Linked DNA regions of Homo sapiens: region 1 is linked to region 2. Evidence: promoter capture Hi-C in 16 types of primary human blood cells and fetal thymus (Javierre and others, 2016). All regions are on one chromosome and are shown on one strand. Each heading gives the region's core, a stretch centred on a gene start or on the middle of the fragment in contact. The rest is flanking DNA. Distances are from core to core; before and after follow the strand shown. Region 1 holds the start of LINC01012 (long intergenic non-protein coding RNA 1012). Region 2 holds the start of H2BC12 (H2B clustered histone 12).

The links. Contacts are between HindIII fragments. The CHiCAGO score rates a contact against its expected background, and 5 or more counts as called.
Region 1: a fragment that was not itself captured here is called in contact with the fragment with the promoter of H2BC12 in region 2 in 11 of 17 cell types (erythroblasts, fetal thymus, megakaryocytes and 8 more); the score reaches 11.9 in erythroblasts.

What each region holds. Positions count from the first base shown.
Region 1 is chr6:27,689,701-27,695,156 of GRCh38, forward strand. LINC01012 (long intergenic non-protein coding RNA 1012) reads left to right here and starts at 4,335. Exons shown (of 4, transcript NR_038294.1): 1 at 4,335-4,806. The HindIII fragment of the contact is 6,174 bases long and covers 1-4,378 here.
Region 2 is chr6:27,142,881-27,148,261 of GRCh38, forward strand. H2BC12 (H2B clustered histone 12) reads right to left here and starts at 3,975. Exons shown (of 1, transcript NM_001312653.2): 1 at 3,481-3,975. The coding sequence starts at 3,918. The coding sequence ends at 3,538. It overlaps H2AC12 (H2A clustered histone 12), which reads left to right and starts at 4,226. Exons shown (of 1, transcript NM_080596.3): 1 at 4,226-4,682. The coding sequence starts at 4,249. The coding sequence ends at 4,635. It overlaps MIR3143 (microRNA 3143), which reads left to right and starts at 4,746; the gene lies at 4,746-4,808. RefSeq lists enhancers at 2,873-2,982, 3,402-4,318, 3,573-4,032, 4,363-4,612. The HindIII fragment of the contact is 2,078 bases long and covers 2,788-4,865 here.

The DNA.
Region 1 (5,456 bases), core at 42-2,541, 540 kb after region 2:
ACTGCATTCCAGCCTAGGCGACAGAGCGAGACTCCATCTGAAAAAAAAAAAAAATCAGCTTATTTTCAAATGAGTTGATCCTACTAGCCAGGAATTGAATATAGATACTTCTTGTCCACTGTACAAAGTACAGGCTTTTTCATCGTAGGAAAGAGGGTGGTGAAGACGATACCCTTAATTTTCTCTTATAAGGTGAACAAAGCACTTTCTTTCCTAGACCATATGATCATCAAAGAGGTTTGAATATGGGCTCCCAAGCTGTACAATAATCAAAGGAAATTATATATAATTTCAACAAACATTTATTGATCTCTCACTCTTCGGTGTGGCAATCCGCTGTCTCTAGTGAAAAGATATGAAGGAAATAATGTTAAGTAACAAACTAGAGTACAAAAATATGTGTGTGCATGAATATTATATATGTATATATGTGTGTGTGTGCATATGTGTGTGTGTGTGTGTGTGTATATATATATATAGATATAGATATAGATTTTTTTTAGACACTGTAGCTCTATTGCCCAGGCTGGAGTGCAGTGGCATGATCTTGGCCAACTGCAACTGTGCCCAGCTGAAAGCCACTCCATCTTGGATGGTAACCCACCATATTGACTTCTGATTAACCCCAGTTCTGGGAATGCCTCTAAGATTTCTACTTTGAGGTACAATAAATCCTGCAATTAGGTGAAAACAACCTTGGTGTTATTGTAACCACATACTTACCATACACAAATCCTGCCCTTAGGCTAGGCGCGGTATGTCATGCCTATAATCCCAACACTTTGGGAGGCCGAGGTGGGCAGATTACTTGAGGTCCAGAGTTTGAGACCTGCCTGGCCAACATGGTGAAATGCCATCTCTACCAAAAACACAAAAATTAGTTGGGCATGGTGGGGCGTGCCTATAGTCCCAGCTACTCCAGAGGCTGAGGAAAGAGAATCGCTTGACCTGGGAGGCAGAGGTTGCAGTGAGCCAAGATCTGGCCATTCCAGCCTGGGCGACAGAAGGAGACCGTCTCAAAAGAAAAGAAAAAAAAAAATCCTGCCCTTAGGCAAATTCCCTGTGGTTCATAAGCCCTGGGTTTGGCTGGTGACAATGTGGGGATCCATCATCTTGTCTTGCTACCACTCAAGACATGGCTTCTGTTATTAAATGTTTCTTTCTGAGAAACTGAATTTGTCAGCCTCTTTCTTTGGCCTCTCAGCTTCCTCAGCCTTTAGGAGTAGACTTGTATAGACCTGCTCACGGTGGAATAAGACTGAAAGCAAACGACATCAGATTCTAACAGCTTTCAGAGGTAATGGTGGTGGGCAAGAGAAAGATACTCTTTCTGCATCAGACGTCTCATCAGCAACCTCGAATGAATGTTAGGAGAAAACAAAATAATGCCTCAAAATCTGGAGGAAAAATGTTTTAATACAGAATTCTATAGCTATGTGTAACATCAAATGTGAAGTTGGAATAAAGACATTTATAAACCTATCATGACTCAAAAAGCTGACCTACATTTTAAGACGCAAACTGAATATATATACTACAGGGAAAATAGGGGGGAAGACAGAGAAAGACATGGAACTCAGGAAATGATGAATCTGATCTAGGAGCTCAAAAATGAAAAACACAGGATGACAGCTATTCAAGAAACCTAGAATGCAACTAATCCATACGGGAGCAGGAAGCTAAAGGACTCAGAGAAGATTTACCAGATTTACCAGACAGGAGGGGATCATGCAGAATAGATTTAATTGAGAACTTGGTAAGTGTTAAGGATGTTGCATTAGAATGTATCATTCAGCTGCGAAATAAAAAATAAAAATGGGAAAAAGGAAGAATAATCCAATTGGCTTAGGACAGAAATACATCTCACGTGACAGGAACTACAGAGGTACTCTGACTCTTTCTCTGTGATTGGCACTGTTCTACCACATCTGGTGTTGGTATTACCCTTAAGCTGTCTAATCTTACAACTATAGTTAATACTGCTGCCACAAGCAGCAAAGTGGTTTTTCCCCATGCATTGAAGGAAAGTCATAACCCCTCCTCCCAATTATGAAAATATTATTATGCCAATTTAGGTCCCTTAAAGATTACATTGAACCTTAAACTTTTCTATGTAACAAACAAAATGCAGGTACTTTTACAGTGGTCATAGAACCAATTTATATATAATTTTTAAAGAATGATTAATAAGCAAGGCCATGAGATGGATGTTTATATTACACAGGAGATACAACTACATGTTTTGGAATTCTGAATTTAACAGGTGGTTGTTTCCTTTTGTTTTACAGATAGTCCTTCGAGATATTATTACAGTTAGTTAGAGAATTAAGAACAGGAGCTTTCTTAAAGATAATACAGGGACAACTGTGACTTTTCTCTCCATATGAATAAAAATTTACATTTTTCCTATCTTCTATTTTATGGCCAGAGAAAACTCTGAGTATTCAGATTTATCCCAAAAGTTTCTAAAATGACCAAACTGTTCAGAATCATGCTTTTTTCCCTTTTCTTTCTTTCTTTTTTTTTTTTGTTTTTTGTTTTTTGTTTTTTGAGATGGAGTCTTGCTCTGTTGTCCAGGCTGGAGTGCAGTGGTGGGATCTCAGCTCACCGCAACCTCCGCTATCTTGGTTCAAGAGATTCTCTTGCGTCAGCCTCTCCAGTAGCTAGGATTACAGGCACCCGCTACCACACTCAGCTAGTTTTTGTATTTTTAGTAGAGTTGGGGTTTCACCATGTTGGCCAGGCTGGTCTCGAAGTCGTGACCTCAAGTGATCTGCCTGCCTCGGCCTCCCAGAGTGCTGGGATTACAGGCGCGAGCCACCACGCCTGAGCAGAATCATGCTCTTAATTGTACTTGAAAAACAAAACTTTATCTGAAAAAACTTTCTGAGTTTTTGTTTGTATGTTTTTGTTTCTGCTAAAGCTCAAAGTTTCTGACCCTAGGCAAGTTTTTATTAGTCATAGTGCATTAATAACAAATAAATACAAATAGGGCTAATAGGAAAAAAAGGACTAAGAAACTAAGAGGTAAGAAACAGAAGAATGACAGGTTTTGCTTTAAGGAAAAGTGGAGTGGCCCGGCCTTGGTGGCTCATGCCTGTAATCCCAGCACTTTGGGAGGCCGAGGCGGGTGGATCACGAGGTCAGGAGTTTGAGACCAGCCTGGCCAAGGTGGTGAAACCTCGTCTCTACTAAAAATACAAAAATTAGCCAGGTGCGGTGGTGGGTGCCTGTAATCCCAGCTACTCGGGAGGCTGAGGAGGCTGAGGCAGGAGAATCGCTTGAACACGGGAGGTGGAGGTTGCAGTGAGCCGAGGTCGCGCCACTGCACTCTAGCCTGGGCGACAGAGCAAGATTCCGTCAAAAAAAAAAAAAAATTAAAAAGATTTGCTTCCAACCACATAAGGGGAGGAGTGGTTTATAGATTAATAAAATTGCCACGAGTTGGTATTTCTTTTCTTTCATCTTGTTTTCTTTCTTTTTTTTTTTTTTTTGAGGCGCAGTTTCGCTGTTGTTGCCCAGGCTGGAGTGCAATGGCGCTATCTCGGCTAATCACAACCTCCGCCTCCTGGGTTTAAGCGATTCTCCTGCCTCAGCCTCCCTAGTAGCTGGGATTGCAGGCATGCACCACCACATCCGGCTAATTCTTTTTATTTTTAGTAGAAACAAGGTTTCTCCATTTTGGTCAGGCTGGTCTCAAACTCCCAACCTCAGGTGATCCGCCCACCTCGGCCTCCCAAAGTGCTGGGATTACAGGCGTGAGCCACCGCGCCAGGCCTTCTTCTTCTTTTTTTTTTTTTTTTTTTTTTTTTTTTGAGAGGAGTCTTGCACTGTCGCGCGGGCTGGTGTGCAGTGGTGTCATCTCGGCTCGCTGCAACCTCCGCCTCCAAGGTTCAAGCGATTCTCCTGCCTCAGTCTCCCGAGTAGCTAGGATTACAGGCGCCCGCCACCACGCCCAACTAGTTTTTTGTATTTTTAGTACAGACGAGGTTTTACTATGTTGGCCAGGTTGGTTTCGAACTCCTGACCTTGTGATCCGCCCGTCTCGGCCTCCCAAAGTGTTGGGATTACAGGCGTGAGCCACCGCGCCCGGCCGAGTTAGTAATTCTTGAAGGTGTGTCAGGTACATTGGATGCACTGTACTATTCTGTCTACCTTTGTATATATACTTTAAAGGTTTTTCCCCACAATTTCTCTGGGAAACCTGAACCTTTCTTCCCCGTGTGTTTAGAAGGGAAGGTGAGGAGAGTCAAAGGCACATGGAGCATTAACAGTTGGAATAAACGACAGAGACACGGAAACCTCCGAGGTTTCCAGAGCGGACCCGGAAATGACGCCAGGGGATGCAAACCCTTCTGCCCCTTTTTGCTACCCCTGAAGCTTACTGTTAGTGGTCGAGTTTTTCTGGAAGTGGGCTTCCGCGATCGCGGGGACCAACGCCCTGAGCTCTTGTGCCCAAAGGGGATCGCCAGGTTTTTTGATGCGGATCGAAAGGGACTGGCCCCGGAGCCTACAACCTGACGCAGGTGGGACTTGGGGAAATGTCGAGAAACCTAGGTCTGGGACTTGAGTTGGCTTCCAGGGCACACATTCTTGTTCAGAAGAAACACATTGCAAAAATCGGGAGGTGACGGGCAGATGAAGTGTCGGCGCTTCGCCTCGGGACTCCAGTGCAACCTATGGGGCTTTTGGAAATGAGGAAGTCGATGACTCTGCAGGGACTCCTCTGACCCAGGAGCAGATGGCGCTCGTCTGGGCACTCCCCAGGAGAAAAGGTGCATCGGGAAGCAGCCTGGCTTGTGGATGGTAATAAGTCACTGTTGATGGGTTGGGTGCAGGGAGGGATTTAAGTTCTTGAGCGACAGATGCTAGGGAGTTTACCTGCTCTGGATAACAGTATCTTGTGGAGGATAGTCACCTGGAAAACAGAAATGGCGTGACTGTGTTGAATACACTGTTTGATGATTCTGGGCATCAGGTGAATAGGAAATGTGTAACGTTATGGATGAGTGTGTGCTCATCGGACAGTAGCAGTGCATCTTAACAGTCGGCCTCTCAGTCCTCCTCTTCCTTAGAATCACCTATAGAGCTTTAAAATTTCCTGGATAATGTTAATGTGCAGCCAGCGATGATGACCATTGGGCTACAGTCAAATCCAAGAGGCGCATCTCATCCTTTGTTCTGATGGACAGAAACCATTATTCTGACATCGTGCCTGTTGGAGACATTGTACCTTAACTAGCATTTAATTCATGTGTGCTGGATTCGCTGAATGAAACTTACCAGCAGGGTACTGAATCTTGAATAATACAAGGAACGAGTAGAATAAGATAGTTCTCATTTTATCCTTATCTAATCTAAGAAATCTAGCAATATTTCTCTGTTTAAGTTTTTTTTCTTCAACAAAAAACAAAATACATGTAAGAGGATTTTCTGACACTGCTGGGGGCTCATAG
Region 2 (5,381 bases), core at 2,725-5,224:
CACCTCGGCCTCCCAAAGTGCTGGGATTACAGGCATGAGCCATCGCACGTGGCCACATTATATTTCTATTTGAGTAGTGTCTTAAGAGTAACAAACTGGCTTTCAGACACATACAATAAAGACAAAAAAATCCTAGTTCAATAAAGAATGAGAAAGTAGGATAAAGCAAATGAACAAATTTCCCAGGCCCAGTGCGGTGGCTCACTGGCCCGGTTCACGCCAGCACTTTGGGAGGCCAAGGCAGGTGGATCACCTTAAGTCAGGAGTTCAGGACCAGCCTGGCCAACATGGTGAAATCCCATCTCTACTAAAAATATAAAAACTAGCCAGGCATGGTGGTGGGCACCTGTAATCCCAGCTACTCAGGAGGCTGAGGCAGGATAATTGCTTGAACAAAGGAGACAGAGGTTGCAGTGAGCTGACACAGTGCCACTGCACTCCAGCCTTGGCGACAGAGTAAGACTGTCTCAAAAAAAAGAAAAAAATTTCCTTTCCTTCACTTATATTCCTGAAGATAGAGATAAGGTCTTCTCCCAACTGTACTTATACCTCAGGTAATATCAAGAAAGTAGTGACATGATATATTACAATTCATAGGCATTGAGTTGTGAGATTTGCTCCTTTGTATTAAGCACTTGAAGAATTACTAAGTTTTTCCAGCTCATCTAGGGTAGAAAGCCATGCCATTTTCTTAGGTCCACTGACCTCTTTACTTCCAACTTCTAGACTTAAAGATACTAGATAACAGCAGAGACCAAACATATGATTGCCAAGTCCCTAACCACAGTTAAATAAACCTCCACTTTTCAATCCCAGAGCTACTCTCAGTTTCCCAAAGGATGGGAGAATCTGAAGCAGGCAATTATTCTGTGCAAGCGTTCTTCAGCAGGCTGTAACAATTGCTAGATTGAATTGCTGTGGTCCAGAATCACACAGCAATTATTGCAAAGCACTGAACTACTCTTTAAAAAAAAAAAAAAAAAAAAAAATTTATGAGACAGGAGACAATTTAGCACATTCAACTTTTTAACAATTTAAAAGAGATTATGAAATATACAAATAAATAAGTTAAAAGAGCCCTATTTTTGCTCCAAATTAAGTCAAATTAATACACGTGGCTAATGAGAAAATAGATGACAAAGAGATATATGGTATAATGGAAACAAACAAGAGCATAATGGAATCTTGTTCTGAGTCTAATGATTTGAGCAAAGTAAGCTTTGCATCCATTTAGCTATTTGTAAAATAACAGTGATCTGAACTTTTTGATTCCTTCAAGCTGTTAAATTCTGTGCTATCAGCCGGGCGTGGTGGCTCACACCTGTAATCCTAGCACTTTAGGAGGCCGAGGCAGGTGGATCGCCCAAGGTCGGGAGTTCCAGACCAGCCTGGCCAACATGTTGAAACCCCATCTCTACTAAAAATACAAAAATTAGCTGGGCATGGTGGCAGGCACTTGTAATACCAGTCATTCGGGAAACTGAGGCAAGATAATCGCTTGAACCTGGGAGGCGGAGGTTGCAGTGAGCCAAGATCTCGCCGTTGCACTCCAGCCTGGGCAACAGAGTGAGACTCTGTCTGGGGGGGGGGGGGGGGGCGGAATCTGTGCTATCAAGAGAAATAAAATGAGATCATTTTGAAGGGAGAAAAGGGGTGAGGGTGAAAGCAGGAGAAAGTTATGGCCACTTCCACCCAGTATTTCTATTAAAACACAAATGCACTTCCAGAATTTTGTAAAAAGAGCAAAAAGGACTGAAAGTAAATTGTATAAAATCAAGATGATATGTCCATTTGCAAAAATAGTTTGTAAGTCTAAAGGTAATAACAGCAGATAGCTCCAGAGTAAAAATTTTAGTCTATAAAAAGTAGTCAGGTATACCTGAAGGTAGAATTCATTGGCATAGTGTATTTTAGTTTATTTTTTAATTTTATTTGCGACGGAGTTTTGCTCTGTTGCCCAGGCTGGAGTGCAGTGAGGTGATCTAGGCTCACTGCAACCTTTGCCTCCTGGCTTCCAGCAATTCTGCCTCAGCCTCCCGAGTAGCTGGGACTACGGGCACATGCTACCACGCCCCCCCTAATTTTTGTACTGTTAGTAGAGACGGGGTTTCACACTATGTTAGCCATGCTGGTTTTGAATTCCTGACTTCAAGTGATCTGCCCTCCTATATAGGTATAGATATAGATCAGTGCCTCCTATATAGGTAAACAATAAATATAATTATTTGTTGATACATTTCTTAGAATATTAATGTAACCCCAAAATTACTGGTAGGATAAATAAGACTTGGATCAACAGTGAACATATGCTTTGCATGTATGAAGTTTTTCAATATGACCCTGCTAATCTCCAAATGCCTAAGGGCGGGCAATATCCCCAAAGACTAGAACAATGCGTGGCCAAATATGTTAAATACACACACACACACACACACACACACACACACACACACACACAAAATTCCCCTGTGAAACTGGCCTACATTTCTAAATCACAAATTTAGCCAGGTAACAACCTAGCTTAAAATTCGTGGACTCTTTCTTTCACTTGGTTCTTCCAAAAAAGTTTCACACTGCTCATCACCGGCATAGTCATTCTAGCCTCTAATCACACAATAAAACCCACCACCTAATTCTAACCCACCACCTAACACTTAGCTCAAACCCTGTGCTGCTGGGGAAGTTCCCTTCTCCTCTACTCCAACTTCTTGCTTCGGGGCGGACTGTCTCTAGTCTGTCTGTTGTCTCCCCTCTGAATCTACTTGCTTTTCATTTTCCTTTTCTATAAGCTTTCTTGTCAAAAGGAAAAATTACTGATTGGACCAATTGACGCTGAACATGCCTTAAAAACTAGTAAACTATTCCAAAAATCTCCGTGATGATTTCATGTTCCGTTTCTTCACTCCTGAGAAAAGCTGTGCTCCTCCCCTTACCCTTGCAGACTATCCTGCCTGGTGGTCTGGCATCTTCCCGATGTCCCGTGGGCTGCAGAGATGGAATCAGGGGGTGAGGGGGAAGCAAAGCAAGGCAGAGCTGGGTACAGCCTAGAAGAGGTTAAATAAGGTAACTGCTCGAGCGAAAGCCATACGTACTGGAACGCCATCGGGAACCAAATTTACTAATATATAAACTCACGTTAGAACGCCATTACATGGTGGAAAGTACACGTGACACAATAGGCTTTCAACAAGTTCTAACAGGAAGTCACAGCACTCGACACAACGGAAGTATCCATTTTCGCGCCAAGAGCCAGGAAGCACTTTCTGTTAACACAAGTTTCCTGCACATCCCTAATTTTTTAGGCGCCATATTCCTCACTCAGTACTAACAAAGTGTATGTGGCTTCTCCTTAGCCAGACTCGATTACAAGCACTGCATGCATTACTCAGTGTGATAAGATCATGATAATCCCTTTAAAAAGATCGCCCGAATTTAAGCCTGGATTAGGAACACGTGTTTACAGCTCTAATATCGATAATTTAAGTGGCTCTTAAAAGAGCCTTTGGGGTTGGGCTTTAAGACGCTTACTTGGCAAGTTTACTTAGCGCTGGTGTACTTGGTGACGGCCTTGGTGCCCTCGGACACGGCGTGCTTGGCCAACTCCCCGGGCAGCAGCAGGCGCACGGCCGTCTGGATCTCCCTGGAGGTGATGGTCGAGCGCTTGTTGTAATGCGCCAGGCGGGAAGCCTCACCCGCGATGCGTTCGAAGATGTCGTTGACGAAGGAGTTCATGATTCCCATGGCCTTAGAGGAGATGCCGGTGTCGGGGTGGACCTGCTTCAGCACCTTGTACACGTATACGGAGTAGCTCTCCTTGCGGCTGCGCTTGCGCTTCTTGCCGTCCTTCTTCTGCGCCTTAGTCACGGCTTTCTTCGAGCCCTTCTTGGGCGCGGGAGCGGACTTCGCTGGTTCCGGCATGTTGAAGGCGAACTACGAGCCTGAGACGAGCAGCAGATCGAGAAAACGGGAAGTAATGGGAGCAAGGTACCAGGAGTCGTTTTTATATAGGACCTCTCATGCAAATAAGGTGAAGAGTGAAAGTCCTGTATCTGATTGGTGGTTATTAGGGTGACGTCAGAGGTTAGTTATACCCAATCAACCCAATCTGCAAATCCAAAAGACGTACTTCCATTGGTTAAAACTAAGCTACAACCCTAACCAATGACATATCTTCTTTTTCGCGCCCAATAGTGTTTATAAAAGGCGCTGCCTTTCCTCGTTGGCTACTTTCAGTAAGTTGTGACCAGTATGTCTGGACGTGGCAAGCAAGGCGGTAAAGCTCGCGCCAAGGCCAAGACCCGCTCTTCTCGGGCTGGGCTTCAGTTCCCCGTGGGCCGAGTGCACCGCCTGCTCCGCAAGGGTAATTATGCCGAGCGGGTTGGAGCCGGCGCGCCAGTGTACCTGGCTGCGGTGCTGGAGTACCTGACCGCTGAGATCCTGGAGCTGGCTGGCAATGCGGCCCGCGACAACAAGAAGACCCGTATCATCCCGCGTCACCTCCAACTGGCCATCCGCAACGACGAGGAGCTCAACAAGCTGCTGGGCAAAGTCACCATCGCGCAGGGTGGTGTCTTGCCCAATATCCAGGCCGTGCTGCTGCCTAAGAAGACTGAGAGCCACCATAAGGCCAAATAAGGAGCGAGGTTGTGAAAACTGGAAAACAAAGGCTCTTTTCAGAGCCATTCTACACTGTCTTAGAGAAAGCTGGACACAGTCATGTTTGTTTCACTTCATGTTTGCTTCGCTAGATAACATTGTAAAGCGCTTCTTTCGCGGTTGGGCTGGAGCAACTCTTTACAATGTTTCTAAATTAACCCACTGGAAAGCAATGAAGACCCAAAAGTTGTTGTAGGATACTCCGGAGAAGCTTATTCAGCAGGGGTAATAAGTGAAATCAAACGTACAAATCCCTGAAATCTATTTACTAATTCCAGTGGTTTTTTTTTTTTTTTTTTTTTTTTTGAGATGGAGTCTCCAACAGGCTGGAGTGCAGTGGCGCGGCGCGATCTCGGCTCACTGCAACCTCCACCTCCCAGGTTCAAGCGATTCTCCTGTCTCGGCCTCCCGAATAGCTGGGATTACAGGCACACACCACCACGACCGGCTAGTTTTTTTGTATTTTTAGTGGAGACGGGGTTCCACCATGGTGGCCAGGCTGGTCTCGAACTCCTGACCTCAGGTGATCCGCCCGCCTCGGCCTCCCAAAGTGCTGGGATTACAGGCGTGAGCCACAGCGCCCGGCCTCCAGTGTAATAATTCTATTACATTAATAGTGTTGTCAAACAGCCATAAAAATGGGATATACTTGCCATTCTTTAAAGGCAAATTTTGCAATTCTAAGTATTCTTGAAAAGCAAGAAAGGGCAGCCTGATTCTTAAGT